Linked DNA regions of Homo sapiens: region 1 is linked to region 2. The links are contacts of gene promoters, found by promoter capture Hi-C in human tissues and cell types (Jung and others, 2019). All regions are on one chromosome and are shown on one strand. The core of a region is centred on a gene start or on the middle of the fragment in contact, and the rest is flanking DNA. Distances in the headings are between cores, read along the strand shown.

Region 1 (3,220 bases), core at 697-3,196, 890 kb after region 2:
ATTTATCAGGTACTCCCCGTGGGACTCTAATTGCATCTAAATAAACTTGAGAGTCAAAAGACCCATAAGGGGCTTCTCTTATTTTATGGTGTTGCATTTTTTCTTTTTCTGGTTGATGAAATGCCAGGGTGAAAGGGATAGCCAATTAGACAAGAGCATAAGTACCACTCCAGTTACTTGACAGAGTGTCCAGTAAGGGTCTGCCACAATACCACCACACATCTGCTCGAGGATGGCTAAGGGCAGACTGATGGGTAAGCTTCTAGAAGGGCTTAAGCTCACTGCATCCTGTTAAGCTTCCAAGGAATGCCAAGTTTTCCCCTTGTTGTGAGAGACACAAGGTGAAATTGACGTTGGGAGATGGAAGCTGGATGGCCTTCGGGGGCTGACCCGCAGGGTGTTGGATTTCAGGATAGAGCAGAAAGAGAGCTTGGCATTATTTATTGTCCCAAGCTGTAGAATCCTGGAAGAGAGCTATCATGCAGCCCATGCCTGGTTGACTAGCGGACCATCCAAGTGGAAAGAGGACAATCTGGGCCTCTGGCTGGCCGTGCACACAAGCATAACAATTGCTTTTGTTTAACATGTGGACAGAATATTTGATCCATTCCAACCAGGAATTTGCATCTTGATATCCTGTTTCAATTGCTAAAGTTTGCCTTAAATCATTTACTTCTACAATATCTACCTTAGTCTTATCATTGGGTATAGAGGGGATAGCAGTTTGATTAGAAGAAGGCTTAGAAGGAGAAGAGAGGAAAGGGGGTGAAGAGGATGAGGGATTAATAAAATGCATTTCAAAAGTCCCTATGAGGTCTGTGCCAGCCAAGTTGGCTCCCATGCTGTAGAAGCGGCTCAAAGTAGGTCTAGGGTCGGTAGAGGTGGAAGTGAGAATTGAAATTTGCACTGGATTACATTGGTTATACTGGCAATTGGGGTTGGAGGTGCTTTCTTTAGTAAAGTGAATGTATGGTTTTAAGGATACACAACCACCTGTCAATGAGGTCTAGCCTTGATATTTGGTTGTCCACAGAACATCATTCCTGCTATGGCAGACCTGTTTCTCTATATTTGTTAAAGAGCAAGAGTCTTGGTAGGGGGAACCTCTATTTTAAAGGGGCAGAGATACTTTTCTAAGGCTAAGAGTTTCCTTTGACTTTGAAGATCTCTACAGGGTATGACTAAACAAGCATCAAACGTAATAACTTTGGGGGAGTTTGATTTAGTTACATTGATAACAAGGTGGTCAGCAATAGAATGAGAAAAGAAGAAAGAGTAATAGAATAGATGAAAGAGAGTTAAACTTAGCTTTAGTTTGAGGGGGTTTTCCCCTGGGACAATGGCCCATGACTGCGGAGGTGGTGGTGCTTTCTTGACTCAGGTGTGATGGGTCCATCCTTTTTCTGCTATCAGGACTGTGGTTCCAGTGGTTAGAAGCACTTAGGTGAAGTCCTTCCCAGGACAGCTCAAGTTTTTCTTCTTTCTAGCTTTTGATGAGGACATGATCCCCAGGCTGATGTTGATGTACTGGGAACTCCAGGGGCGGCGCCTGTGCTAGGAGACCTTTGGTTTTTAAAAAAAGAGAAAGTAGAGGAGAGACCAAGTATATAATTCCTGAGGAATTGATCTTTTGTTTCAAATGTAGGAATGCCAGCAGTGGAGTGTAAATAAGGCAATTAGAGCATCTCATAAGGAGAAAGGCCAATATCTTTCCAAGGAGCAGCTCAGATTCTTAAAAGGCAATAAGAAGACATTTGGTCCATGGCAACTGAGTCTCTAGAACTAATTTGGTTATGTGGTTCTTTAAGGTCTAATTCATCCTTTCTATTCTTCTTGAGGAAGGTGGGTGCCAAGGAGTATGATATTCCCATCTAATGTCTAGGGCTTGGGATAGCTTTTTAATGATATGTGCTATGAAATGGGTTCCATTGTCTGAATCAATATTTTCTATTGGTCCAAACCTGGGCACTATCTTTTCAGTTAATGCTTTAACTACATTATTGGCCATTGCATTTGAAAAGGGAATAGCTTCAACTCAATGAGTAAGGTGATCTGCTGTTACTAATAAGTACTTTAGGCGACCGATTGGGGGCATTTCAGTGTAGTCAATTTGAACACTTTGGAATGGTCTTAGCCCTGGATCCCTCCCCGCAAGGGGCGATTTCTTTGTAACTTGTTTGTTGGGTTTTTTTTTTTTACATATGAAGCAACTATCTTTAATCTGTTTGGCTACAGTATAAGTTCCTGAACACCCATAAACCCTGAGAACTGCATCACACATAGCTTGGGGTCCCCAGTGGGTCCCTTGATGCAGATGGGACAGGATTTCCTTCATGACGAGTTTGGATAGTATTTCTCATTGATCTGGTAACACCCATTTTCCTTCTGAGTTTTCTTTGGCTCCTATTCTTATTAATTTTTCCTTTTCTGCAGCAGAGAAGATAGAGGTTGCAGCAGGGGGAGGAAGACAAGGAGTTAAGTGAAAGATAGGTGTTTCAGATGAAACAGCAGCCTGCTTAGCTGCTTGATTTGCAAGGTTATTTCCCCAACTTGTAAAGGAAAAGTCTTTTTAGTGTCTGGGGACATGTACAATGGCTATTTCTTCTGGCAACTGGAGATTGTTTAAAACATGGATGATTAGCTCTTCATGGGCAAGATTTTGGCCTTTAAAATTAATAAGAGGTTTCTCAGGCCAAATTTTTCCAAATGTATGTGCTACTCCAAAGGCATACTTAGAATCAGTATAAATAGTTTCTTCCTTGTTCTGTAAGTGTTTTAAAGCCTGGCTGAGGGCAAATGGTTCACAAACTTGGGCAGATCAACTATTGGGCAACCTTCCTGACTCTATTTCTTCAAGAGTTTCTCTATCAATTACTGAATACCCATTATGCCTTTCTCCTTTAATTACTTGGGAGGAACCATCTATAAATAAGCATCGCCCCATTTTGAAAGGGGTCTCTCCTAGATCTGGCCTGACCTTCATTTGGTAGTCAATTAAATCTAAACATAGGTGTTCTCTTTTTAGATTTGGGTCTCCTGTCAAGAAACCTGCTGGGTTGAGTGAATTATCAGTAGTTAAGGTTAAATTCATCTTTTTTCTAGTAGAATAGCCTCATATTTTAATTTTTCAAGATTCAATTTCAGTATTTCAAGATTCTGGAGTCAGTGAGCACCTTCCTGCTTTTTTATTTAAAGTAGCTCTAACTTGGTGGGGTGTGCT
Region 2 (3,594 bases), core at 1,078-3,577:
GCCAACATGATGAAACCCCATCTCTACTAAAAATACAAAAATTAGCCAGGCGTGGTGGTGGGCACCTGCAATCCCAGCTACTCTGGAGGCTGAGACAGAATCTCTTGAACCCAGGAGGTGGAGATTGCAGTGAGCAGAGATGGCACCACTGCATTCCAGCCTGGGCAACAAAGCAAGACTCTGTCTCAAATAATAATAATAATAATAACTAATGATGCAGCTTTCTCTCTCTGAGTATATAATGCAGTTCTGATGATGTGAGGAAGGGCCTCACTGTTGGTGTGGCAGAGTCTGAGACCATGGCTGGCAATGAAAACACTACCCTTTGATGCCTATGGGCTCTCCCTTTATGGTTTCAAGGAGGGCTTCTCAATCTTGGCAGAATTTTGGACTGGATAGTTCTTTGTTGCACAGGTGGGGGGCTGTCCTGCACATCACAGGATGTTTCATCCCTGGCCTCTACCTACTAGATGCCAGTAGAACATACCCACCCCACAGCTGCCTGTTGTGACAATCAAAAGCATCTCCAGATACTTTGCAGGGGGAAAATGATTTCTCCAGGCCTGGCATATACATAACAGTATTTAAGCAGCTGCCTAGAATTAATTAAACACAGAAGGATGTCTCTCATCCAGAATGCCCTGGACCACCTCTTTGATAGGCAATCAGATCCCACCTCCTCCACCCTATTTTTGAAGGCCCTGTGCCAACACCACTTCTTCCATGAATACTTCCTTGATTCCCCCATCCCTAGCTCTATATAAATCTCCCACTCAACACTCACACCTGTTAGTTTACATTCCTCTTGACACTTGTCATTTAGCATCCTAAGTATGTAAACATGTCTCTCTTCACGATTCACAAAGTGGCTTTGGAAGAACTTTAGTACCTTCCCATCTTCTCTGCCATGGAAAGTGTACACAACTGACATTTTCTTTTTTTTTAAGACAGTATCTTGCTATGATGGCCGGGCTGGAATGCTGTGGCTATTCACAGGCACAATCATAGCTCACTGCAGCCTTGAGCTCCCAGGCTCAAGTGATCCTCCCGCCTCAGCCTCCTGAGTAGCTGAGATCACAGGCATGCACTACCACACTCGGCTCACATTTGACATCCTCTAAAGCATATATAAAATGTGAAGAAAACTTTCACAATTTGCATCCCTTTGTAATATGTAACAGAAATAAAATTCTCTTTTAAAATCTATCAACAATAGGCAAGGCACGGTGGCTCACGCCTGTCGTCTCAGCACTTTGTGAGGCCCAGGCGGGCAGATCGTTTGAGCCTAGAAGTTCAAGACCACCCTGGGCAACATAGCGAAACCCCCTTTCTACAAAAAATACAAAAACTAGCTGGGTGTGGTGGTGCACACCTGTAGTCCCAGCTACTTGGAAGGCTGAAATGGGAAGACTGCTTGAGCCCGGGAGGGAGAAGTTGCAGTAAGCCAGGACCACACCACTGCACTCCAGCCTGGGCAACAGAGTGAGACTCTGTCTCAAACAAACAAATAAATGAGGCGGGTGGATCACGAGGTCAGTAGATCGAGACCATCCTGGCTAACACGGTGAAACCCGTCTCTACTAAAAAAAAAAAAAAATACAAAAAATTAGCCAGGCATGGTGGCGGGCGCCTGTAGTCCCAGTTACTCGGGAGGCTGAGGCAGGAGAATGGCGTGAAACCGGGAGGCAGAGCTTGCAGTGAGCCGAGATCGCACCACTGCCCTCCAGCCTGGGCGACAGAGCGAGACTCCGTCTCAATCAATCAATCAATCAATAAAATCTATTAACAATATTTATTGTGCACTTAACAGGAACATGCCCTGTCCAAAAAAAACTTTACAGGGCTTAACTCATTTTATCCTTACCACAATCCTATGAAGTAGGAACTTTTATAAAACGCATTTTATAAACAAGGCACAGAGAGGTTAATTAACTTGCCCTCTGGTCACACAGCTAGGAAGTGGGCAGAGTACAGATTTACACAAGGCATCCGTCTCCTGGCCCCACATACCCAACTGCTGTAAACCCATACCGGCGGCCAAGCAGCCTCAATTTGTGCATGCACCCACTTCCCAGCAAGACAGCAGCTCCCAAGTTCCTCCTGTTTAGAATTTTAGAAGCGGCGGGCCACCAGGCTGCAGTCTCCCTTGGGTCAGGGGTCCTGGTTGCACTCCGTGCTTTGCACAAAGCAGGCTCTCCATTTTTGTTAAATGCACGAATAGTGCTAAGCTGGGAAGTTCTTCCTGAGGTCTAACCTCTAGCTGCTCCCCCACAGAAGAGTGCCTGCGGCCAGTGGCCACCAGGGGTCGCCGCAGCACCCAGCGCTGGAGGGCGGAGCGGGCGGCAGACCCGGAGCAGCATGTGGACTCTCGGGCGCCGCGCAGTAGCCGGCCTCCTGGCGTCACCCAGCCCAGCCCAGGCCCAGACCCTCACCCGGGTCCCGCGGCCGGCAGAGTTGGCCCCACTCTGCGGCCGCCGTGGCCTGCGCACCGACATCGATGCGACCTGCACGCCCCGCCGCGCAGTAAGTATCCGCGCCGGGAACAGCCGCGGGCCGCACGCCGCGGGCCGCACGCCGCACGCCTGCGCAGGGAGGCGCCGCGCACGCCGGGGTCGCTCCGGGTACGCGCGCTGGACTAGCTCACCCCGCTCCTTCTCAGGGCGGCCCGGCGGAAGCGGCCTTGCAACTCCCTTCTCTGGTTCTCCCGGTTGCATTTACACTGGCTTCTGCTTTCCGAAGGAAAAGGGGACATTTTGTCCTGCGGTGCGACTGCGGGTCAAGGCACGGGCGAAGGCAGGGCAGGCTGGTGGAGGGGACCGGTTCCGAGGGGTGTGCGGCTGTCTCCATGCTTGTCACTTCTCTGCGATAACTTGTTTCAGTAATATTAATAGATGGTATCTGCTAGTATATACATACACATAATGTGTGTGTCTGTGTGTATCTGTATATAGCGTGTGTGTTGTGTGTGTGTGTTTGCGCGCACGGGCGCGCGCACACCTAATATTTTCAAGGCTGGATTTTTTTGAACGAAATGCTTTCCTGGAACGAGGTGAAACTTTCAGAGCTGCAGAATAGCTAGAGCAGCAGGGGCCCTGGCTTTTGGAAACTGACCCGACCTTTATTCCAGATTCTGCCCCACTCCGCAGAGCTGTGTGACCTTGGGGGATTCCCCTAACCTCTCTGAGACGTGGCTTTGTTTTCTGTAGGGAGAAGATAAAGGTGACGCCCATTTTGCGGACCTGGTGTGAGGATTAAATGGGAATAACATAGATAAAGTCTTCAGAACTTCAAATTAGTTCCCCTTTCTTCCTTTGGGGGGTACAAAGAAATATCTGACCCAGTTACGCCACGGCTTGAAAGGAGGAAACCCAAAGAATGGCTGTGGGGATGAGGAAGATTCCTCAAGGGGAGGACATGGTATTTAATGAGGGTCTTGAAGATGCCAAGGAAGTGGTAGAGGGTGTTTCACGAGGAGGGAACCGTCTGGGCAAAGGCCAGGAAGGCGGAAGGGGATCCCTTCAGAGTGGCTGGTACGCCGCATGTATTAGGGGAGATGAAAGAGGCAGGCCACGTCCAAGCCATATTTGTGTTGCT

The links. Contacts are between HindIII fragments. The study calls those that stand out against the background at their distance.
Region 1: a fragment that was not itself captured here is called in contact with the fragment with the promoter of FXN in region 2 in 1 of the 25 tissues and cell types used here (dorsolateral prefrontal cortex).

The regions. Positions count from the first base shown.
Region 1 is chr9:69,926,469-69,929,688 of GRCh38, forward strand. No RefSeq gene overlaps it. Among named protein-coding and RNA genes, the nearest start is that of CFAP95, 110 kb to the left of the region's middle. The HindIII fragment of the contact is 3,339 bases long and covers 278-3,220 here.
Region 2 is chr9:69,033,425-69,037,018 of GRCh38, forward strand. FXN (frataxin) reads left to right here and starts at 2,328. Exons shown (of 5, transcript NM_000144.5): 1 at 2,328-2,523. The coding sequence starts at 2,359. RefSeq lists silencers at 2,217-2,686, 3,269-3,563 and an enhancer at 2,847-2,896. The HindIII fragment of the contact is 19,714 bases long and covers 1-3,594 here.